Regions from separate parts of the Homo sapiens genome. Here regions 2, 3, 4, 5, 6 and 7 are each linked to region 1. Evidence: promoter capture Hi-C in 16 types of primary human blood cells and fetal thymus (Javierre and others, 2016). All regions are on one chromosome and are shown on one strand. The core of a region is centred on a gene start or on the middle of the fragment in contact, and the rest is flanking DNA. Distances in the headings are between cores, read along the strand shown.

Evidence for each region. The method cuts DNA at HindIII sites, captures the fragments that hold promoters and counts their contacts. A CHiCAGO score of 5 or more calls a contact.
Region 2: a fragment that was not itself captured here is called in contact with the fragment with the promoter of SSBP2 in region 1 in 2 of 17 cell types (fetal thymus and megakaryocytes); the score reaches 7.5 in fetal thymus.
Region 3: a contact is called between a fragment that was not itself captured here and the fragment with the promoter of SSBP2 in region 1, in 4 of 17 cell types (M1 macrophages, megakaryocytes, M0 macrophages and 1 more). The highest score is 6.0, in M1 macrophages.
Region 4: a fragment that was not itself captured here is called in contact with the fragment with the promoter of SSBP2 in region 1 in 2 of 17 cell types (megakaryocytes and fetal thymus); the score reaches 5.7 in megakaryocytes.
Region 5: a fragment that was not itself captured here is called in contact with the fragment with the promoter of SSBP2 in region 1 in 1 of 17 cell types (neutrophils); the score reaches 5.3 in neutrophils.
Region 6: a fragment that was not itself captured here is called in contact with the fragment with the promoter of SSBP2 in region 1 in 1 of 17 cell types (megakaryocytes); the score reaches 5.2 in megakaryocytes.
Region 7: a contact is called between a fragment that was not itself captured here and the fragment with the promoter of SSBP2 in region 1, in 8 of 17 cell types (fetal thymus, total CD4 T cells, erythroblasts and 5 more). The highest score is 9.2, in fetal thymus.

Annotation. Positions count from the first base shown.
Region 1 is chr5:81,749,314-81,752,809 of GRCh38, reverse strand. SSBP2 (single stranded DNA binding protein 2) reads left to right here and starts at 1,713. Exons shown (of 17, transcript NM_001256732.3): 1 at 1,713-1,829. The coding sequence starts at 1,768. RefSeq lists silencers at 812-1,161, 1,432-1,761, 1,932-1,981, 2,422-2,471, 2,692-2,851. The HindIII fragment of the contact is 16,084 bases long and covers 1-3,496 here.
Region 2 is chr5:82,227,057-82,230,552 of GRCh38, reverse strand. All of the region lies in intron 5 of ATG10 (autophagy related 10), which reads right to left. Among named protein-coding and RNA genes, the nearest start is that of RPS23, 50 kb to the left of the region's middle. The HindIII fragment of the contact is 1,110 bases long and covers 960-2,069 here.
Region 3 is chr5:82,169,346-82,172,841 of GRCh38, reverse strand. All of the region lies in intron 4 of ATG10 (autophagy related 10), which reads right to left. Among named protein-coding and RNA genes, the nearest start is that of RPS23, 110 kb to the left of the region's middle. The HindIII fragment of the contact is 7,884 bases long and covers 1-3,496 here.
Region 4 is chr5:82,105,967-82,109,462 of GRCh38, reverse strand. All of the region lies in intron 3 of ATG10 (autophagy related 10), which reads right to left. Among named protein-coding and RNA genes, the nearest start is that of ATG10, 140 kb to the right of the region's middle. The HindIII fragment of the contact is 672 bases long and covers 1,276-1,947 here.
Region 5 is chr5:82,063,456-82,066,951 of GRCh38, reverse strand. All of the region lies in intron 3 of ATG10 (autophagy related 10), which reads right to left. Among named protein-coding and RNA genes, the nearest start is that of ATG10, 93 kb to the right of the region's middle. The HindIII fragment of the contact is 8,136 bases long and covers 1-3,496 here.
Region 6 is chr5:82,021,403-82,024,898 of GRCh38, reverse strand. All of the region lies in intron 2 of ATG10 (autophagy related 10), which reads right to left. Among named protein-coding and RNA genes, the nearest start is that of ATG10, 51 kb to the right of the region's middle. RefSeq lists an enhancer at 1-1,836. The HindIII fragment of the contact is 5,505 bases long and covers 1-3,496 here.
Region 7 is chr5:81,490,988-81,494,483 of GRCh38, reverse strand. The region is part of intron 5 of SSBP2 (single stranded DNA binding protein 2); the gene reads left to right. Among named protein-coding and RNA genes, the nearest start is that of ACOT12, 99 kb to the right of the region's middle. The HindIII fragment of the contact is 3,239 bases long and covers 213-3,451 here.

The DNA of each region.
Region 1 (3,496 bases), core at 464-2,963:
CTTCTAGTCTTCTCATCTTTTTATACCTCACTTTCCTCATGTTTTTTTCCTTGTCATTAACACCAGTATAGAAAGTCCTTCCTCTTCATTTTCCCGTCTTTATGTCTGGTTGCCAACCGCGTTTTTGATTCTCGACCTCTCACTTTTGCTAACTGCCCTTCCTTAATCATCTGTTGATGTTTTATTCCTATCACTTCTGTCAATGCTCACACCCATTTCTTTCCTTTCCATCTATCTGTATATCTCCATATGCATTTTATGATCCTCCTACTAAATGCTTAAAGCTGTGTGTGTGTGGAATAGAACGGTACCTTCCTCCACGCGAATCCGATTTCCCTCTCCTCCCATAGCTACTTCTTGTCTATTCATCCTTTCCAGATGTCGCCCTGTCCCACCCCATCTGTCCCCTTCTTCCCCGTGTGAAGCCCATCTTCTTTCTAACCCCATTTGCACCCGTCTGATTTTACAGTCAAGGACTTCAATAAGATAAATGATGCAGAGTTCTACTGGGAACCAGATTGTGTGTGTTTCTGAAACTTTTGCGCGTTTACTGAAATGGGATTAGGGATTTGGATACAGAAACATTCTCGGGCAGCCTTTCAGCCCTGGCACAGCTTTGTACACCTTGGAGCGCGCTGGGGCCTATTCTAACGGGCAAGGACAGGGAAGTCTTTCAAGACCTTTTCTGGCCTTTTCCACTCCAGGGGTCAGGATGAATAGGCATCACTGACCCAAACTGTTAAACCAGGCCGGGTGGGGAAGCCTGGGGCCCTCTTCTGCGGCAGATCTGGCGGGGTGTCCAGGGCGCCGCGGGGCTCCGTGCAAGAAGGGGTTGGGGCAGGGGCCGCTGCGGCCGCAGGAGTCACCGGGCCTCCTCGGGAGGTCCGCTCACCTCTTACAGAGGAGGCCGACCCCAGGCCGGGTGCTCCCCTGGGGCGCAGGGCGCGGCCCCGGGCGCCGCCACCGCAGCGGCGCCGAGGGCCGGAGGTGCAGCCTTTCCCCAGGAGAGAAGGCGAGTCGCTGTCGGTCGCTCAGCCAGAAGGTCGAGGGAACCGCGCGGGTGTCCCTCGCCAGCCGGCCCTCTGGGAACAGGGCGGGGGCGACACCCCAGGGAGTAGGGCTGAGGACCGCAAAAATCAATCGTGGGTACCGGCGCGGGGTCACGCATAGGAGAGGAGCGGGAGAGGGGCTGGTGGGGGCCCCAGGGCGGCTGAGGCCGTGGCTCTGTCGTGGACTCGGCGGGCGCCCCGAAGTCTGGGGCCGCCACGGCTCCAGCTCCGCCGGCTCCGGCCGGAGACTCCAGGCCGCAGTTTCTCCTCCTCCCGGCGCCTTCTCTCCAGTGAGGAGCTGAGCGCGGGCGGCGCGGGGGGAGGGGTGGCGGCGGAGAGAACAGCCAGTTGTTTAAAATCCTTCTAGAGCAGTTTCTAATTCCCCCCTTGCGCCCGGGTTCGGAGGGGGGAGGGGGAAGGAGAGCGGGTGGAGGGAGGAGAGCGGAGAGGGAAGGCGGGAGGGAGGGAGTCGGGGAGGGAGGGAAGGAGGGAGGAGACTGCCGCTGAGGCTTAGCCGCCACCGCGCGCTTCGGAAGGCCAGAGGGAGGGGGAGGCCTGTCAGTCTCGCGCGTTGCCTGGGCGAAGGGGGCGGAGCTTTGGCGTGGGGCGGCCAATAGTGGGGGTGGCTGCGTGGGTCGCCATGGGGACGGGGCTGTTCCCGGGGAGGCTGTGATGGGTTGACAGGTGCGTGACAGTGGGAGCTGCTCTCGGCACAAGCATGTACGGCAAAGGCAAGAGTAACAGCAGCGCCGTCCCGTCCGACAGCCAGGCCCGGGAGAAGTAAGTGTCTCCGCTTCTCACCCACCTCCGCCTTCACACGCGCGCACACTCACGCACGCACTCGCACACTCTGGGAGACACAGACACTCTCCGCCCGGGGAGCGCCGGGGGTGGGCTGGCAGGGGGAGGGGTGCCGCGATGGGGGCGTGTGGTGCGGGGAGCTGCGCTTTCCCGGGAGGTGCGGGCGCTGGGCGGGCGGCCGCAGGGGGCTGTCGGCGGGAGGGACCGGGTGTGTTGAGGGGCGGCGGTGGTGCTGGTGGCGAGGATGGAAACTTGTTTGGGTGATTGAGGGAAATAACCCGCGGGTTCACCTTCCAAAGTAACTTTAGAGCTGGGGTCCGGGGCTCCGGGGACCTGGGGAGCCGCCGGGGGTGGCGGGAGGGGCAGCTGCGTGGAGGAAGGCGCGCAGTGGGAATGTGGGTGTTTGGCGGGCCGGCCGGGGTCGGGGCCGGGGTCGGGGCGGGCAGCGCGGGGAGCGCGGCGGCGGGGGCCTGGGCGCTGGGGCTTAGGGCCGCGAGCGCGGGGCGAGGCGAGGCGAGGGCGGCGGTGCCGGGCGCGCGGCGGGCGGAAGCCGGGCGTGGAGCGGCCGAGCGGGGCCCCGCGGGGCGCGGAGACGCGCGCGGGGCGCGGAGGGCGTGTGCGGGTTGGGCGTCCGGGCTTTCCTGGGCCAGCTACGGACGCGGCGCCCGCAGTCCCCCGCGCATCGCGGGGCTGGGGCTGGGGCTGGGGCGGGGGCGGGGGCGGGTGGGCGCCGGAGACGCCGCCGAAGTTTGGGAGTCGGAGAGGGACCGAGTTCCCGGGGAGCTAAAGTGTGTTGGCGAGGAGCGGGATCCGCTGGAGGAGGCTGGCGTTTCTGCCTCTCGCAGCGGACCCAACTCCGCGGCGGCGGCTGGCGAACTTTTTGTGAGGCTGGCAGCCCCCGAGCGGCGGGAGGGGCGGGCCCGGCGGGGCGGTGGTCGGGGGCGCGCGGAGGGGAGTTGTGGGAGCCGCCGGGGGCGCCCGAGGAGGGCAGCTGTGGCGGGGAGGGCCAGTGGTCCGAAAAGGGGTTTGTGGGAGGGGAGAAGCGTTCAGGTGGGAAGGAGCCGCTTGGTTACAGTTGTGGGGAGATACAGGTGTTAACTTCGGTGGGAGCCCAAGAGGCGGCTGGCGAGAACAGAGCCCCTCCCGGCCCGGGATGCCACTGTCACGGCACACTGCAAAGCAAAGCGGTTTGCTGCTATTCTTGTGTACTTGTAACGGTGATTTGGTTGTTACTAAAAATGAGAACGAATAGTGACTGTGATCACTGAGGAAGAACCCCCCCCTTTTTTTTTTAAACTGTGCAACAGATCAGTGATTCCCAGTAACCACTTAAACTCTGAGGGTCAGAGTTATCCTTGTCGTTGAACGCACCCTGTCTTTCTGAGGGGGTTCAGACCAGAGAAAAAGTCTGAGAGCATCTCTCAAAGGTACTTTGGTTACCTTGCGCACAGAAATAGCTGCGTAAATAAAAACCGAATGCGCAGGCGACTGAGTTTCCCTCCTTGGTTTAGGCAGTTAGTCTCCCCCTGAAAGTTTTGTGTGCCCTAGGGATGGGAACATTTCCTAATCTTTGTGTTGGCAGCAACACACTCAATTCCCATAGGATTTAGAGGTATCAGGCCTTGATGTAGCAAAGCAAAACAAAA
Region 2 (3,496 bases), core at 265-2,764, 480 kb before region 1:
ACCATGTTAGCCAGGATGGTTTCCATCTCTTGACCTCGTGATCCACCCGCCTCGGCATCCCAAAGTGCTGGGATTACAGGCGTGAGCCACCGTGCCCAGCCAGTTTATACTATTATAAATTATGCATATATACTATATATTCCTCTTTATGAATTATTTCCTTATAATAAAAATTTTGGAATGAATAAAAACAGTGGGAATATTTGTATTTCGTATTTGTTGATTTGTATGATCACATTTCCCTCCAAAAAGATGAAACTACATTATTGCCACCAATACAAACTGCTTTATTAGTCCCTCACTGTTTTAAGTAGCCCTGTCTTAATGTGAGAACTAACCCTTCCTTTGAAATATTTCACAAAAACATCACATAGACTCCATAAAGACTTTAGTCAACTAGCTTAGCCCTTATGCTTCTTTCAACTTGGCTGTAGGCTGCAACCTTCAGGAATTAGTGACCTGATGCAAGAGAACATGCAAAGGGTTAGGGCTCGGGATGGGGTTGGGCAACTTTCTTGAATGTTTATAACCACATTATGTCCTTGGATAATGCCTTTTCAGATTGACCAGTGCAGGGATCAGTAACTTTTCAAAAATAGTTTGCCAAGGCTCCAATCTGTATACGAACAGGCCTGCATTATATGACGTGAGTTTCCAATGAGCTGGTACAGCCATCCTTTGGTATTCACAGGGAATGGTTCCAGGACCCCCCTACCTCCCTGCCACAGATAGCAAAACCCATGGATGTTCAAGTCCCTTATGTAAAGTGGCTAGTATAGTTGGCCCTCCATGTCCACAGATATGGACACCTGCAGACATGGAGGACTGACTATTCCTTGGTCTTCACGGGCCATTCAAATAAGAAGTCACATTAACTAAAGCTCACAACTTACTCAGATTCTGTGCCAGTTTGTATAAAATATGGCTATAGCATTAACACACCACTTCTCTAAAAAGCTTTATTTTCCTTGGCTAGGGTCTGAAAAATGATATTAAGTGTAAAAACCAGCACACAAAATTATATATTAATTACAGTTTACAATTGTGGATACACTGACATGAAACTTGCCCAATAAGAAAGTGGCATCCAAACTTTCAACTTGAAGCATGGCATGAAATAAAATTTAAATCAAAATTGTGCCTGTCAAACTCATATAATTAGCAGTAAACACACCTTAGGGCATGCACATGTTCTTCAACACTTATTTTTTAAAGTAGAAAATAGTTCCTTTCTAGCATGTTCCTCCTAAGAGGCTCATTTATTCTTTCCTGTCTTAGCCAGTGCTCCTCCAGTACTGTAACAGCTGCCATCTCCAGCATGAAGTAAAATTGTCTCAGAGCATGCATCCAAGCCATCCGGCCTCTCCATTTCTGCCTCAGGAGAGGGGTCCACTCAGAAATAGCTCGTTTCACAAAAACTTCAAGGGACAAATCCAGCATCCCTACAAAGGCAAGGGATCTCTCCTAGGAATTACTCATCAAATTGGGAGTACATGTGTTTTTTATACACTGACCTTCTCTGTGAAACACTGAAGATATTTCAGTTAAGTTAGTCCACACAAGTCAAATCGACTTTCTGCCACGGGAACCTCAGGCTTCTATAATTTACCTACTTTCTCAACTTGATAAGGAAGGTATTGTTCTTATAGCTGGTACTCAGGAAAATATAAATTATAAAGATAATTTTATGCCTCTACTTTCACTTATGTCCTTACTCCTGTAAATCAGTGTTTTATTCCAGTGTCTCTGAACTTGTTTGCATCACCTAAATTTAAAAAACATCTATCTATATACCCCAGGTACACAAGTTCACCTCTAAAGGTTTTCATTAAATAGTTGCAAATTATATGATTTCCAATGCACGGTACATATTGACAATTTTAAATACAACTATTAATATTACATCATTATCTTAAATGCATTCAATTGAAAATAAACATCCATCATCATTCACTTAAAAAATATATGCAATACAATTGGACATTTTATATATTTCTCCTTGAATTCATATCTCTATTGTGCTCCTCTCAAAGAACTTCATCCTAATGTATATTTTATGCTTAAAAGCTTTTTATTGATCATCTTCTCATAACCAAAAAAATAGAGAGACAAAGGAGTTTATGTTTTAAAATTTCCTGTGGCCATTTTGTTCTATGTTAACTTAGATGTCTGATTGAGTTGTCATAATCATTGCTAGTATTCAATTGATCAAAACAACATAAATATATTATAAAATTTGATAAGCAAATATATAAAGTAAAATATTTTTGGAAATCATGAGTTAATGGCATTATATAGTATTGATACATACTTTTAATAGTACATACATACTTTTTTTTTTTTTTGAGATGGTCCCACTCTGTTGCCCAGGCTGCAGTGCAGTGGTACAGTCATGGCTCCTTACTGCAGCCCTGACCTCTCAGGCTCAAGCGATCCTCCCACCTCAGCTTCCCGAGTAGCTGGGACTACAGGTTCATGCCATCCATGCCCAGCTAATTTTTGTATTTTTTGCAGAGGTGGGGTTTCTCTATATTGCCCAGGCTGGTCTTGAACTCCTGGACTCAAGCAATCCACCTACCTTGGTATCTCAAAGTGCTGGGATTACAGGCATAAGCCACTGCACCCAGCCCATACATACTTTTTATATAGTACATGCTTTTATTCATATGTGTATGAATCAATTTAATCCCCACAATAACCTATTATTATAATCCCCATTTTATAGATGTAGAAACTAAGATAGAGTAAGCATAAATGACTAATCCAGGTCACAGAGCTAGCAAACTGAAGAACCTGGATCTATGCACAGACCTCTGACACAACAGCCCAAGTACTTAACCACTACCCTATATATCCTGACTTAAAAACATGAATTGGGGCCAGGAGTGGTGGCTCATGTCTGTAATCTCAGCACTTTGGGAGGCCGAGGCAGGCGGATCACCTGAGGTTGGGAGTTCGAGACCATCCTTGCCAACCTTGGTGAAACCCCGTCTCTACTAAAAATACAAAAATTAGCTAGTTATGGTGGCAGGCGCCTGTAGTCCCAGTTACATGGGAGGCTGAGGCAGGAGAATCGCTTGAATCTGGGAGGTGGAGGTTGCAGTAAGCCAAGATCGCACCACTGCACTCCAGCCTGGATGACAGATAGATCCTATCTCAAAAAAATAATAATAAAATAAAATTTTAAAATATATATATATGTGTGTGAATTGGGACCTGGGGATACCTTAAATAAAGGGGTTGTCAAATTTCTCCTTTTTCAGTGCCCTGGCTAAGCAATATGTCATGGTAAGGGATGGATGTCGGATGTCAGATGTCTTTCTTTTGTACACTGGAAGAAAGTAAAAAAGGGGAGGGGAACAAGGAAAATCTCAACCACAGGTGCCTTCTCAAGCAGATGGATTTTACAAGAGGGGGCATATAGGAATAGAAGATCTGAAAATTAATTCCTTTAAAACTCTCATGCCCATGTATCTTTGGGAAGTCTTCATCAACC
Region 3 (3,496 bases), core at 309-2,808, 420 kb before region 1:
TTTATTTATTCCTATAAGCATTTTAGGACTTTGTATCTTTATTGGGCTCAAGAAATCTAAATGAAATTCCAAAAATATGAACTATGGCAACTTTCTTTTGCTTGCATATAACATCAATTAATTAATTTAACCTATATGGTTCTTAAATTTCAGTTATTTGAATGAAAGTGTCATGTAGTGAAAAATGGGCTATAGAGTTTAAGTCCCAACTCTACAGTTTTCTATGTACCCTTGAATAAATAATTTAACCCCTCTGAGCAGTTTTTGTCTTCACATGAGGGTAATAATAGTTACTACCTTCTAATTTTATTGTGAAGATCTAGATATATAATTTGGCTAGCATGATTGAAAGGCACTAAGTGTCAAGCACCATTTCCAATATAAGCTCAGGATCCTCGAAACTCTGAAATCAGTATTATTGCTAACTCAATTTTTTTTTCAGATGATGAAAGAAAAGAAATGGCAAAGTTCAATAACTTGCCCAAGGTCATAAGGTTAGTAAGCAGCAGAGCTAGGAATCAGAACTAAAGTTTTCTGACTCTAGACCATGCGCTTTTCACCACTACATTATATGTGTTTCTGTGCACAGGAGTTCTTTGTAAAGTGTAAAGTTATACATGCATATTAGTTGTATTGTTCTTGTTGCTACTATTACTAGTGGTCCCCATCAACACTGCCTAACCTATGAGTATCTGGAATTTTCCCTTTCATGATTTTCTTCCCAAGCCTGGCTCACCCTTTCCCCTATCACTCATGGACAAATCCCATGTCCAGCCAAGGCCTCTCTTGATCACCACAGCTCAAGGTAGTCATAGCTCTCCAAGCCCTGGTGCCTTTTACCTCTCTTATGGTCCTTAACATATTCTACTTGTTATAGTGAATTTCAGACCTATCTTGTGTTTCCCTCACTAGACTGTAAGCTCCTTGATGGTATTATCCATCTCTGATTTCCTTTATTTATCTCAGCATTTCAGAAACATATCCATGCCTTATGTATAAATATTTTCAAATGAATGAACAGATGAAAGTTCAACATTATTTCTAGAGTAATTAGCACATTCTAAGAATAATGGCTGAATGATCATAATAAAATTAATTGATTAAATGTTTTACATTTATATTTTTAAAAACCCTCATACTCACATAAATCCATAGCATTAAGCAGATGCAGCTATAGCAGATATGTGATTTCTCAGTATCCAAACACACTTCCAATTTGGGAGATAAATTCCAAAATAAGTAGGAGGCAGAGCCCCATTTCTACCACCAAAGCTAAAGGGAGGCAGATATTCCCTTGCCTTGTCATTCTACCACCTTCAGTTGACTCTACGATCTACCCTTCAATAAGCCTTTTCCTGCTTATCAAATTATTTGCAACCAGGGGTACACATCTAATATAGCACAAATAGATGGTTTAAAAGTCTTGCTTAATAAATATTTTCAAAATTATCAGCTTAAAATGTTATATATTTGTCTAGCAGTCTTGAATAGAAAAAATAGATGTTAACATGGTTTTTAATTACATGAGAAAGTTTATGTGTGTTACAATCTATTTTTATGAACATATGCCCAATAGCACATAAAGGAGCAATTATGAATCATCTTAAACTGTCCACACACAGTGTTAAGAAACATGGAATAACGCAAGTGATGTTATACCCTTCCATTTAAATTAAGTGAATCACTTAACCTAGTAAAGGACATATAAGACCATTTTGATGAACCTCTGAATCAGAAAATGGTCCCAAGGGAAGCAACATTGGGTCCACAAGATACCTGAGACATCAGCCCTGTGATACCACTATTGATCCAGAAATCTGAGAACCATACTACCAGCTGGATATCTACAGCCTAAGGTCTGCTGGTTCTAAAGCAGAAGACACTCTGTTTTCTTTTTTTTTTCCCTGAGACAGAGTCTCGCTCTGTCACTGCAGTGGCGTGATCTCGGCTCACTGCAAGCTCCGCCTCCAGGGTTCAAGCGATTTTCCACCCCACCCTCCCAAGTAGCTGGGAGTACAGGCGCTTGCTACCATGCCTAGCTATTTTTTTTTGTATTTTAGTAGAGATGGGGTTTCACCATGTTGGCCAGGCTGGTCTCGAACTCTTGACCTCAGGTGATCTGCCAGCCTCGGCCTCCCAAAGTGCTGGGATTACAGGTGTGAGCCACCGCGCCCTGCCAACACTCTATTTTCAATCCTATCCAAAGTATTCTGAGGTTTTGATCCCAAACTCTTGAGATTAATACTCAGTAATTTGTATTCCTGGCTTTCCTCAAACATTATCCCCACATCATGGACCTATTACTACTATATTACTCTATACCAGCACTTTGAATACCCTTACTTCCACCATCCAACCTGGTCTCCTTCTCATGGAATGCAGTCTCTGCCTTCTCAAAACAGCACCTAACATATAGACTCGAATACTGCTTTGATGACTTTGAAGGAGCAGAAAAACAATACATGAGTTACAAGTTAGGCAGTGATTTGTTTCAGCATATTTTAAAAAGAGGCTAATGAGATTTGTGTTGTGCACACAGTAGGCACTCATGTATATTTTAATAGGTATTTCAAACAGGGCTCATTGTGCCAATAGTAAGCAAAGAGATGTTTTTTCCATATGGCACAAACATTCACCTAAGAAAGCTAAAATACAGTCGCTTACAGGTTAATAAAATTAATGTACTTACCTTGTTATTTTCTCTCCCAAGCCTCTGGGTCCAACTAAAATCTCTTGCCTTTTGTATATGTGGCTAAGCAATATTCTGCTTAGAATAAACCTTTTGGCTAACTAGCTATCTCTGTAGTTTTACTTCCCATTTCTTTAGCACCTTTCCTTTAGTACATTTTCAAAACAGGGCTTGATTTTTCAATGAGATTCTATTGCTATCATATGTTCTAACCCAGCATGTGACTTCTATCCTAATTCCCCAAAATATTTCAAACATTTACATGGCTCAACAAATAATTCTCACTAGATTTCCTCTGTTATTTGGACTTTTCAGTTTGAATATATTTGTATTAGTTAGATAACTTTTCATTATTCTTAAAAATAACTTTCACTGTTTGCTCTTCAAATTCATTTCAATCCCTAGAATCTCTTTTTAATTCACCAAAATTCATGTTATGGTTCATTATCATGACCTTGGCTAGATTTACTGTCTACATAAACATATGTGTAACATAAATATAAATACACAAACTTTCTTAAAGATTCTTTACAATTAAGACTCTAAATTAAATTATCTGTCAAATAATTTTCTATTTTCTGCTCACTGTAGTAATTAACTAGAGTCGTTTTTGCCCCAGTCTTAAAATACTTCTCTAATCCACTATTTTTCTTCCTATTCAACAAGCTGCCTTAACCATAACTCTTACCGTACTTGCAATAATACATCTTTCCCCGAAAATATGTTCTTTCCAACTCATTTTCTTCATTTTCTCTAAGAGGTTATTGTTTTTAAATTGTTATAAAATTAATAACAACAACAATGAAA
Region 4 (3,496 bases), core at 362-2,861, 360 kb before region 1:
GAGTTCACAGATTTCAGCCCAAGGTGTGAGTTCTCTGGGATCTTTTAACTTCTCATAAACTGAGTCATGAGGCGGAAGTCTACTTTGTATTTTAGTGCCCAACTAAAGCTCTGTGCATATTTAGGAAGTCTGGTCTCCTGAGTGAACAAATCTAATGACCTCTCCTCAGTTCCCATACTGTCCCCTACAACAGTTGATTCTGCGATGGCACCCTCTTTTATACTCTGGGCAAAGGCCTTGCACACAGCAAGAATGCAAATATTTGCTGATTGAGGAACAAGGCATTCCCCTGACCACTCTCATCTCTGTCAGAGTTTGTGCAGGCTCCTTCTGTCTCTTATTTCTTACCTTAGCCTCCTATATGTAGTCTTCCACCAAGGTTAGGCTCTCATTTCATTTCTCTTCTTAGTCTATACACTTTCTCTGAAATATATCATCGATTCTCAAGTTGTAGCTCTGACTTTTCTTCGGCTCCAAATCCAAAATTTAAAGTATGTGCTACATATTTCTATAAGATTGCCTTCAGGATCTCAAATCTGACATGCCAAAATGGAATTATCTTCCCCCCTATGCCTGTTTCCCATCCCACTCCCCTAGCTGTTCCTTCCCTTACATCTATGGAGGCAATGGCAACACCATTCCTGCTTCCTGGTCACATAGTCACATAGACTGAAAATTTGAGAGCTATCTTCAACTCCTTTTTCTGCCTTGTGTTTAAATATTTTATACCTTTGTAATGTCTCTGATGCACATTCCATCCTTCCTATCAACACTGACATCATATAATGCAAAAACAGCATAACATGATAAAAAGAATATCAGGCTTAGACTCAAACAACCTAGAATTTGAGTACCACCTCAGCTCTGACTATGCTATGAGACCTCATATACATATTACTTGACATTTTCAATATATATCTTCAAATCATAGGATTATCTTGAGGGATATATACACACACATATACATGAGATATATACACATGTTATACATACATATATACACATATATACATATATGATATGTACATAAATATTATATAAGAGCAGTATTATTGCATATACTGTGTGTATATATATGCACATATATATAGGTGTCTAGGGTTCTCTGTAGATACACAAATATGTATGCATGTGTATATATATGTATACTCGCAAATACAAATGAAAGGTATTACTACAACCATTACTCTTATTATTATCCACGATGATATAATGTCTGACCTTACCTAGTATAAAAATGTCTAATCTTTAATCTCTCAGTTCTCCAGGCAAGCTTTCACACTGAAACAAGTATTATTTAATCAAAACATTATTTGTTTCCTCGAAATGGTGTGCAGTTTGCTCTCCTCTGACAACAGAATAAACTCAAAAGCACTTAGCACGGATTTCAAGGTGCTCCATTATCTAACTCTACCTTAGCATTCTGACCTCACCTCCCAGTACATAACCCCTCTATCAACCAGGTTCTATCTAGCCTCAGGCCTAGAATTGTCTTGCTCTAAGTATACCCTGCATTCATGCTGCTCCATTCAGTCTAGAATTTCCATTTTTGGAAACCTCTTATTCAAAGTCCAATTCAAATGTCACCTTCTCCATAATATCCCTATTTGTTTTTTATTAAGAATTAGCCCATATTCTACCTTTATTATCCTTCTGCATTGTAAACAGAGGATATTTACATTTCTTTCTCTCCAACTAAATTATAAATTATTGAAGAATAGAGACTGTGGAGTATTCACCTTTGACTCTCCATCACGCATCAAGTCTTATAAACAGTAAGCATTTACTGAATGTTTATAGAATTAAATTGCATAATAAAGCCCCTCAAGTCTTTTAATTTCAGAGAAGTTAAAACTATACAGTAAAAATGTAAAATCAACAAATTATTCATTGTAGACATTTTTTAATGCAAGTGAAAGAAAATATTTTTAAAATACATTGTAAGCTTTAAGGTAAACAAAAATATTGTTTGGTGCTCCCTCTGCTGGCTTTGCAGAAGCAACTTAAGAATGTTGAACAATAACACCACAAAGAAGTAAACATCAATTCAGCTTAGCTGCTCCCTTTATCTCCTGCAAACACCCAGAGTAGAAACTTTCCACTGAGTTCTTTTGGAAATAATCCTACATGTAAAAAGGTTTGTCTATGAAATTTGTTTACAGGGACAAAACTGATCTTAAAATTTTGCTGATAATAATCCTGTCAGAATTCTTGTTTATACCTTTGTTTTCTAACTAAACCACCGACTTTATGTATAAACAGTTTTAATTTTTAGCTGAAACTGTTGAGAAGCAAAGTAGAATAAGATCTTTTTGCTTTCTATTTAATCTATATATATATTTTTAAAATTGATTAGGAACATAAGAGGTTAAATTCTTCTTGTGTTCCTAAACAGAGTTATTCTGAGTACCCTGAAGGCATTTAATTCCAAAACAGGAAGCCAGAGAGAGGAACACTTGGTTACACTAATGTTATGCAGATCTTTTGGAACATATTTTCCTAAACACTTGCTGAAAGAACCTTTTCTATACTGCATGCTATCACATGAAGTTGGAGAAGGGTCCCACGGATACCACAGTACACTGACTGCTCAAATTGCCCCTTATTACTTCTCTATTTTTCTCCACTTATCTTACTTTAAAATGGCCATCTGCTTGCTCATAGAAGGGGGTAGGAAAATCAGGTGGGGGTCAGGGAATGTTTATTCATACACTATAGTTTAATTGTTTTGCATAAATGTGTATAAGAGCTATGATATAGCTTATGATAGTCCATTGTTAAGAAAATGATACCATAGTAAGATTAACCTGAGACCAGCAGAGGCTGTTAAAGATTGGTGTCCTTTCTAATAAATTCTTGTTTTATATGCTTTTAGCTCTACTATAAAACCTCTGTAATCTAAAACATGTTAAATGAGATCTCACCCTGGTAAATGAAACAAAGAACAATGGTAAACCACAGGCAAGTGGAAAAGGCAGTGGATTCATGCAGTTCAGAGGTGTGCATGCTGGAGCTACCTCTGTTACTGAGCAAATCACATAACACTGTAGGGCTCTATTGCCCAACCTCTCAAATACGGCTTCATACCACTAGAGATGAGCAAGCTGCTATGATCCCGTGACTAAACAAGTGAACTAGAAAGGTCCACTTTAAGTTACTGAGGTAAAAGATGGTAAAATAACACCAAGGTGGGTATATTTTTCATACGCTGTTTGATCTTATACACCATTTCAATGCCATTTTTAAAAATAGCTCTTTTTCTTACTTTCTTAGTTAAATGCAGTTATGTTTTAAAGAAAGTAAATGATTACTGAGCAATTACCCTCTATGCTGGAAATTAAGGTTTCATGCACATTCTTGATTATCCATAAAAATGAAGTCTTGTAATATTAAATGCAACAGTTTAGTCAGAAGAAGCCAAATAGGAAAAATAGTCAATATATTTGATTTGATTATAGTTACTTTCAAACAATGTATAACAAAATTAATTCTATTC
Region 5 (3,496 bases), core at 537-3,036, 310 kb before region 1:
ATACAGAGGTAATCATGCTTCTTAGTCATCATTTACATCTATCAATACATCTATAGTTCAGTCCAAAAATAGCAGTTGCTTTACAGATAAATTGTTAATGCTTACTGAGAACTGTGGCTCACCATTTATTCCATTATAAAAAAAATATTCTGACATATGAGTCTATTTTGGACATATAAAATAGAACTCATCCTAGAAGCCACCTAATAAAATCCTTAGGGCAAATGAGTGTATTTCAAGGCCTGGTTACCTCAGAAGATCATCATTCTTTGAATATGTTCCTTGGCAATTGAGATCATCTCCTGTTACTGATTCTCAGTTTTATGCTTCAGGAAATTTATGATAGGTTGTTTTTTGTCGAGGGCCTCACTTTCTATAATATTCTACCTGCCCTGGTCTAAGGAAAATCCCAGTTAGTGAACTACAAGGCCCTAAGACAAAAATCTTTTCTTCCACTAGTATATTATTGCCATTTTTATGACTCTATCATTTTCATAGTTTTTAAAAATGTAATCTGAAGGTGCAACCTGAGGCTCTGAAGTAATAAGGATAGTAAATGGATAAATAAAATATGCTTGGTACCCACCTCTGATACCTCTGCAAAAGGATGAGGAACTACAGTAATCGAACTTCAAGCAGAACACAAACTTCAATAATATAAAAATTACTGACCAACTTAAAGTCAGTGTGTATAGGTAGCTGAATTGTGTGAATCAAAAGACAAAATCTAGGTTATCTCTATTCTATGGAAAATGACTCAAAACTTCATAAATGAAGACATTAGAGACAAAAAAATACAAAGCAATGTTGGCTAGAACACGAGTTACATAGGAAATACTTTCAGATATTTCCCCTTTCTGAGCATTCATTAATAATTTTTACTACTTATTATTAAAAATCAGTATCTAAGTTAACTAGATACTGTTTCCTTTTACTGAGTGGATGAGTGCTGGACACGATTTTTTTAAAAAAAACTTACACCTTATTTCTCAACTCTAGTCTCTCTAGTCTTCATTAGCCAGTAAGTTAATTTAGAACCTTAAAAAAAAAACTTAAGTTTAGCAGCTATTTTGCAATAATATATCCACAAAAATTTTAAGAGTTAATAATGGTTAATTTTCGTCAAAAATTGTCTAATTGAAGTATAGGGCTTGGTTCCCACTTCTATTTGTAAATTATCGTTTCATGTATAGAAATAAGGCTTCAATAAGGACAATATGCTCCTGTTTATTAAAGTAGATCAATTGTTAAATCACGTTTTTCACTACTATTAAATGATATCTCAATTTCTCTAAGAAAAGTCTTCAATTAAATACAAAAAAAATCATAAATTGATAAAGTGATATGGTAGTATCAATACCCATTTATGAAAATAAGTGTCACATAAAATAAGATATCCCAAGCCAGCATCGATTATGTTTGCTTCTGTTGAAATTATTCATTTATATTTTTAGGATTTTTTTTTTTTTTGAGACAATGTCTTGCTCTCTCGCCCAGGCTGGAGTGCAGTGGTGCAATCTCGGCTCACTACAACCTCCGCCTCCTGGGTTCAAGCAATTCTCCTGCCTCAGCCTCCCTAGGATTACAGGCACCTGCCACCACGCCCAGCTAATTTTTGTATTTTTTTAGTAGAGATGGTGTTTCACCATGTTGGCCAGGCTGGTCTCAAACTCACAGCCTCAAGTGATCCGCCCCGACTCGGCCTCCCAAAGTGCTGGGATTACAGGCGTGAGTCACTGCGCCCGGCCCTATATTTAGAGGATTTTAAATTGATGCAACATACTTCTGTTGGTCACTGGTAAAGAAAATATCTTGTTCAAAAACTGCATCTCACTTTCATCTCACAAATTCAGAAATGTCACATGCAAAATCATACTACCTACTCTCAATAAATGTCTTAATTAATATGACTAACTTTTAAGAACTACTGTTTCCCAAAGCCAGAACTTAACAAAAGCCAGAACATAATCACTTCCTAGCTATTGTCCTTAGGCAAGTTTAACCTTTGTGTCATGTCTCAGTTTCCTCATAATAAAGTGAAGAGAATAAAGATATCAATATCATGAGTTGAAATGAATTAATATATGCAAATCACTTAGTGCAGTACCTATAGTTAGTCCTCCATAAACTTAGGCTGCTGTCTTTATTATAATATTGTTATTGTTATTATTATTATAACTGTTTTTATCCACCTTCACTAATCTTATCCATTTATTTGCCATATTAATATTAATATCTATTGTCATAAGAGTTTTCTGAAGATTAAATAAGATAATAAAGCAACTAGTAAGATGAACTGGTATGTAATAGAAGTAATTGACCATGATAAGTATTATTTTGGGGGAATTAAAATGTTAATACATGAAGGCATTAATGCTGGCATAAATGTGTGTTGAAAGAGAACCTGTTAAAGTCATTGATAAAAAAAATTAATCTAATATTTCATCCAATAAAAACATCGGGAGCTAAGCAAATAGTACTCTCTAACTCCACAAAAACCCTTCCCTCAAGTTTGATATCCATTCACATATCTACATATCTTTGGTATGGTTGTTCAACTATCTACAAATACAACTAATTTAGAAGAAAAATGTAAAAAAAAAAAAATTTAGACTTTTGATCATCATATATTTAGGATCAAAAGATGATGTATTTTACCTAAACCCTGTTTTGGAATCCCAAGGACCATAGTAAAATAAGAATTTATCACTCTTCAGTGCAGAGTTGAAGTATCTTTTGATCAGCGATGGTTGAAATGAAAAATAATGTTGTTTTATGCAGTTGCTTACAAGATTATAAAACTTATTAATTATCACAAAACTACCAATAATTTTTCATGATAGATAATCTAGTCTGTAAAATCACTTACAGCTAAATTTGATAATTTGTACAAATTAGGATTATTCTTTGAGTTCATCTATCATGAGCACAATCAATCCCTTTCATGAAATTTGCTTATTCAATTTTTTTAACTTTTCAGTTCAGGGTACATGTTCAGGTTTGTTACACAGGTAAATTTGTGTCATGGGAGTCTGTTGTGCAGATTATTTCATCACCCAGATATTAAGCCTATTACCCATTAGTTATTTTTCTTGATCCTCTCCCTCTTTTGACCCTCTACCCTCTGATAGGTCTCAGTTTTTAAAATGTTAGCAGTTCAGCCGGGCATGGTGGCTCAACGCCTGTAATCCCAGCACTTTGGGAGGCCAAGGTGGGCAGATCACCTCAGATCAGGAGTTCGAGACCAGCCTGGCCAACATGGTGAAATCCCGTCTCTACAAAAATACAAAAATTAGCCAGGCATGATGATGGGTGCCTGTAATCCCAGCTACTCGGGAGGCTGAGGCGGGAGAATCACCTGAACCTGGGAGGCAGAGGTTGCAGTGAGCCAAGATCACACCACTGCAGTCCAGCCTGGGCAACAGAGTGAGACTCTATTTCAAAAAAAAAAAAAAAATTGTTAGCAGTTCATTGCATTTTTTAAACAAACAGTAGA
Region 6 (3,496 bases), core at 647-3,146, 270 kb before region 1:
CATAAATCCTGCTTAGACTTGCTAATTTTCATACGAGAATGTCAACACCAACTCCACTCAGTGGTCACTACAGCATATGGACCTGCCCTTAACAGAAAACACAGAATATCTCTACTTGAGGTTCTGCCACCCAGCCCTTAGCTTATTAACCATTCAGGGTCATCAGGCTGTTTTCTCAGGGTACTGGAATTATAAATCATGGCCTTTTTTCTTTAGTCAAACTTCAATACATAATGTTATGTTATAGGGCAAAGGGACAAAAATCAACATTTGAAAATCTTATCCTAGACCAAATGCTTTTCAAACCATCTGTGGTGAAAGATCAGGATTTTATTTCCAATCTGTCATAGACATATTTTTGTGAAAAACACTAAAACTGAATTACTAGAAAAAAATGAAATTAAAAAATCCAAAACATACAAATTACAAGCCTCAATTCTTTTATTAAACAGACATAGAAATTACTCTGTCAAACTGCTTAAAAGTTTTTAGTCACTAATTTTCCATTTCTGTACTGATGTCCTTGCACTGTTACCAGTGTAGGCCACGCTTTGAGTAATGCTGCCTTAGAATACAGTCTCTCATCCCAACCCAAATATCTACCTCTACCCTGTCAAGAGAGTCGAACAATCCATCTCGGAAAGAAGCTGGAAGACAGAATAGTATACTCTATGGTTAGTGAAAGAGCCACTTGGGATACATACACATCTGCCATCTATACACTTCTAATGCATAGAAGCTGATCCTTTTTCATAAACTACTCACCAGTCTAACACACTTTGAGGTTTATGAGAGTAATAGGGCTGCAGTCTCATATATGTCTTTTACTTTGAAACCTCTCAGTTTTTTAGGTTAGTTAAAACCCCTATTCTGGTTCTTGGTCATTTACATAATAAACAGCCATTTAAATGCACATGCACTACACCCTGGTGAAGTCAGCAGGAGGTGCACATGAAGATCTGAGACCAAACTTCTCTGTATGTGTGCAAAGCATGTCTCCATTGTGCAATCGCTCTACAAATAAGAAATAAACACTGGGTTTATAAGACTTGGAAGAAAAGGTTTACGGCTTTGACTGTTTTCCATTACTGGAAAATTTACATGCTGAAAAGTAGCAAAAACCAGTGCAAAAGAATAAACAGCGGGTGCACTTCAAGGGCTTGTTTCTTTCAAGAATCAGGAGCAAAACTGGGTTTTATTAGCTGTTTCATTAAGTTTTACTTTGAAGAAAAACAAACAGTGAAAGCATATGTGCAACATCTGATGAAAAAGGATTTTATTCCAAACAGTCTCTGTACAAAACTCATTAATGTAACATTAAATGTGAAGACTTGTCTAGCAATTTAAGAATAATTTTACTCATTTTAGTTTATTTATAATTTCTGACACAGTTTATTTAATGTATTCTAAACTTTAAATCACCATGTGTACTAAACTAATATATTAAATCTGTCTTTTCAATGACATTTTGCAATAAATATCTACAGCATCTGTTAAAGACAATTACTATATAAATCTGTATCAAATTTAACACCTAAAGTAGGATAATGCAGCTGGATATTGATAACTTGAAACACTCATGATTACATGTGTTTTTAAAAAATACAAGCAAACTTAAAAAAATCTAAATATATGTGCTACTATAATCTAGTATCTCAAATCTAAGCGCCTAATATAATACACAAAGTATTAAATAAAAGTATTCTTTTTTCCTTAGAACAAATTTAGTCATGCTGGATAGTCATCATATTCCCACTGGAAGAATCTGCCCAATTGCTACTTTCTTGTTTCAATTCTACACATTGATAAGAGGCAACTAAAGTTTGCTGGGGCAGGGGGGGAGCATTGAGAAGAAAAATAAATATATATACATACATATATATATATATATTTTATGTGTGTGTATATATACATATTCCAGATCCATTGTGTTGGCTACATAATGGTGGTATGGAATAGATAAAACTTCAGCTTCTAACTTAGTTAATGAATATTCAAATATTAAACTATAGGTTAGGAGTTAAGACAATAATCTTTGGAGGCAGACACACCTTGGTTCCAGTCTTGACCCTGCCTCGAACATAAATACTATGTAACCTGGACAAATCATTTACTTTCTCTAAGCCTATATGCCTGTCTAAAGTAGAAATAATAATGGCTAACTCACAGAGATATTGTGGGGTTAAATTAAATGAGATATATGTAAATAACAGCACAGTTAATGGTGCTTTGAAAATGGACTTTCCTCTTTAAAAAAAAAAAAAAAAAAGAGTACTGGCTGGGCATGGTGATTCACACCTGTAATCCCAGCACTTTGGGATGCTGAGGCAGGAGGATCACCTCATGTCAGGAGCTGACCAGCCTGGGCAACATGGTGAAACTTCATCTCTACTCAAAATACAAAAACTAGACGGGCATTGTGGGTACCTGTAATCCCAGCTACTCGGGAGGCTGAGGCAGGAGAATTGCTTGAACCTGGGAGGTGGAGGCTGCAGTGAGCTGAAATCATGCCACTGCACTCTAGCCTGGGTGACAGAGCGAGACTCCGTCTCAAAAAAAAAAAAAAAAGTACTCATTTTAATCAAAGTAATACACCACATATTTTAAAAACTAAACATGCATTAAAATACGTATATACATCCAGTCTTCTGTATCAGCAAGCTCTGCATCCACGGATTCAACCAACCTCAGATAAAATTTTTTTTTTTTTGAGACGGAGTATTGCTCTGTCACCCAGGCTGGAGTGCAGTGGCGCAATCTCGGCTCACTGCAACCTCCACCTCCCAGGTTCAAGTAATTCTCCTGCCTCAGCCTCCCGAGCAGCTGGGATTACAGGCATGCGCCACCACGCCCAGCTAATTTTTTTTTTTTTTTTTGAGACAGCGTCTCACTCTGTCGCCCAGGCTGGAGTGTAATGGCGTGATCTCGGTTCACTGCAACCTCTGCCTCCTGAGTTCAAGCGATTCTCCTGCCTCAGCCTCCTGAGTAGCTGGGACTACAGGTGCCCGCCACCACGCCTGGCTAATTTTTATATTTTTAATAGAGACTGGGTCTCAACATGTTGGCCAGGATGGTCTCAATCTCTTGACCTTGTGATCCGCCCGCCTCGGCCTCCCAAAGTGCTGGGATTACAGGCGTGAGCCACTGTGCCCAGCCACGCCCAGCTAATTTTGTATTTTTAGTAGAGACAGGGTTTCACCATGTTGGCCAGGCTGGTCTCAAACTCCTGACCTCATGATCCACCCGCCCCAGCTTCCCAAAGTGCTGGGATTACAGGTTTGAGCCACCACGCCCGGCTGATAAAATATTTTTAAACTACATCTGCTTTGAACATGTACAGACTTTTTTTCTTGTCATTATTCCCTAAACAATACAGTATAACAATTATTTACATAGCATTTACACTGTATCAGGTATTGTAAGTAATCTAGAGATGATTTAAAGTATACAGGAGGATGTGCATGGGTTATATGCAACTACTAAACCATTTTATATC
Region 7 (3,496 bases), core at 583-3,082, 260 kb after region 1:
TTAATTACTTCTCAAAGGTCCCACCTCCAAATACCATCACATTGGAGATTAGGATTTCAATATATGAATTTTATGCAGACATAAACATTCAGTCCGTAGCATACACAGATCACTAGAACATGTAGAAATGAGAATTTATACCTATAAATGTAGTTTCCGTATGTCAGAGTACTAACTATGCTACCCAGTTTCTCTTATAAAGTAAATAAGCTTACCTTATGAGTTTTTCCTAATTTTGAAACTTTTTTAAAAGCATAGCCTTGATCTTCAGTATTCATAGCACTACATGTTCTATCAAATAGGGATGATGTAATATGACTTTTGAGGAAAGACAACAGATTGAAATATTATTTTCCCTGGGTTTTCATTGATACTCGCCATTTGGTGAAGAGAACATTCTATTTGTCTCAGATTAGTGGACTGATGTAGAAAAGAATTTTTATAGAAATTGTTTCTCCTATTAATTACAAGACTGTGAACCTTGAAAAATCCTAATCAGCGGGTAGTCATTTTTATCTTCCTTGTTCACTGATATATCTAGCCACTTAGAACAGTGCCTTTGTGGGTGTTTAATAAATATTTGATGAGCAGGACATGATGGTTCATACCTGTAATTCCAGCACTTTGGGAAGTCAAGGCAGGATAATCACTTGAGCCCAGGAGTTTGAGACCAGCCTGGGCAGCAGAGCGAGCACCCATCTCTACAATTTTATTTTATTTTTTTTTTTGAGATGGAGTCTCACCCTGCCACCCAGGCTGGAATGCAATGGCATGGTCTTGGCTCACTGCAACCCCGGCCTCCCAGGTTCAAGCAATTCTCCTGCCTCAGCCTCCCAAGTAGCTGGGACTACAGGCACATGCCACCACATCTGGCTAATTTTTTGTATTTTTTACTAGAGATAGGGTTTCACTATGTTGGCCAGGATGGCCTTGAACTGCTGACGTCATGATCCGCCCACCTTGGCCTCCCAAAGTGTTGGGATTACAGGTGTGAGTCACCACGTCCGGCCTGCAATTTTTTTTTTTAATACCCAGGTGTGGTGTTGTGTACCACACCTGTAGTCCCAGCTACTCAGGAGGCTGAGGTGGAAGGATTACTTGAGCCTGGGAGGTTGAGGCTGCAGGGAGCCATGATCATGGCACTGCACTCCAGCCTGGACAATGGAGCAAGACCCTGTTAATCTATCTATCTATCTATCTATCTATCTATCTATCTATCTATCTATCTATCTGTTTTGTTCATTCAAATATATATATGTTTTTGATATATATATGTTTTTGAATATATATATATGTTTTTGAATGAACAAATTTCTACCATACTTTCTCATTGTTAAGTGTAGCTTTTTTATTCTCCTAATTGACCTTTAATCTGACACAACAAAGAGGACTGTTGTGTTGTGGGATATTTAATCTTTAGGTTTTTCTTTTTCTCTATGAAGCATGGTAATAATTTTCTTTAGCTCCTTGATGAAAATGGTTTGTGCCTTAGGAACATATGCCTTTATCCCCACTCCCTGCCTCACCCACACACACTTCAAATATTTATAGCTATCTACATTATACTAATCTTTATATTTAAATGTAATACTAAAAATAATTAACACAGAATCATTGGTTCCTTATTTTAAAAGGGACTTTAGAAGTCACCTGGTTTAACTCTCTCATTTTAAGGTTGAGAAAACTAAAGCCCTGAAAGATGATTAGCTCAGGGACACTGCTAATTAATAGAGGTACAGAAACTAAAACCCAGGTCTTTGACTCCCAGTCAAATGTTATTTCCACACACATTACAAATAATCCTTTCTGGGGAAGGCTTTTTTCCAGTTAAAACACTGATTCACCATCATGATACCTTCAAACAAGTATTTGTTACTCAAACTTAAAAAAAAAAAAGAATGTTGCCCCAAACATAAAGAGTAAACACATTTTAAGAGCCAAACACTCTTTTCTGCCTGTTTTTTTGTTTCGTTTTGTTTTGAGAAAGAGTCTTGCTCTGTCACCCAGGCTGAAGTGCAGTGGCGTGATCTCCGTTCACTGCAACCTCCGCCTCCTGGGTTCAAGCGATTCTCCTCCCTCAGCCTCCCAAGTAGCTGGGATTACAGGCGTGTGCCACCAAGCCCAGCTAATTTTTTGTATTTTTAGTAGAGATGGGGTTTCGTCATGTTGCCCAGGCTGGTCTCAAACTCCTGGCCTCAAGTGGTCTGCCCACCTCGGCCTCCCAAAGTGCTGGGATTACAGGCATGAGCCACCTCGCCCAGCCCAAAGACTCTTGAAGAACCTATTCTTCTCAGATTGCTAAAGCAGGGAATACTGACATGTCTGTCAATAGATATAATTTATATTAGCATAATCTCTTGGACAGATTAGCATTTTACCATAAAATAATTAAAATTGGGGTTAACATTTTGAATTTCATTTGAAAGCAAATTGACTTCTGAATAGTGAAGTACAGATACTAGTGCAGATTATTCTCAGTTGCTAGTATGCAAACGCTTTTAGATTCTGTTGCTGTGTCTACGCAAGCTAATTCACTAGGCAGTTGAGGACTTAGGTGGTTATCTAGATAACATAAGGGAAGGATCAATCTGAATACTAAGCCATGTTATAACAGCACTAATTTTGTGTTAAAAATACTTTAACCATAGTAATCTTATATTTCAGGTAAAAGTAGTAGTTTTTAGCTATATTAACCGATTGTTTTGTCTTTTTGTGCTTTAATTGTGTGAAGATTAGAGTTTATAAGTGGTTTTCTATTTCTTTTTTTTTGGCCTCCAAAAAAACATACAAATTTGAACTTAAAGGAGGACATATAAGAGTAATAAATTGACTAAAAACAGAATCTGTCTCTTTCTCTTGATCTCATTTTGTAGTAACCTGCAGGTTCCCAGCTAGCACATACACTGACCCTCCCTCACAGCAGCTCCTTCACAGGGCCTCAGTCAGGTAGGAGGGTATAGACAGTTCCATTAACATACACTCATTCACAATGCCATCCATTTGGGGAAAAAAAATTCTCCTTTTACATATACCACTAAATAAACACTGTATCATCTTCTTACATTCAGATCAACACGCAGATCTCAAGTGTTCTTCTGTTTCAAGTGAGGCACTTCTAAATATTTATCTCAACATTTGGTATTTAGTAATATTTTTCACATAATTTTACCTTGTATTCTACTTCAAAGTGGTTGTATTACAGACAAAAATTATTAGTAACCTATTTTTATGTCTCCATGTTTCAAAAACTAAATTGATACTATATTTTGAATTAATGACTATGTCATAAAACATCATTTTGTAAAAGACAGCCATTATAAAACCAATGACACAATATTTATTAAATTTTTTAAATTAGTCCAGAATTAAAAAGACAGCTTCATAGGTGAAATTAGGTGATTTATAAAGGAAAGAGAAAATAACAGAGAGAGTGTGAATATTAGAATAAGCTTCTAGTTGACAGTACATAACTAACTTATCCAATTTATGGTAGAGT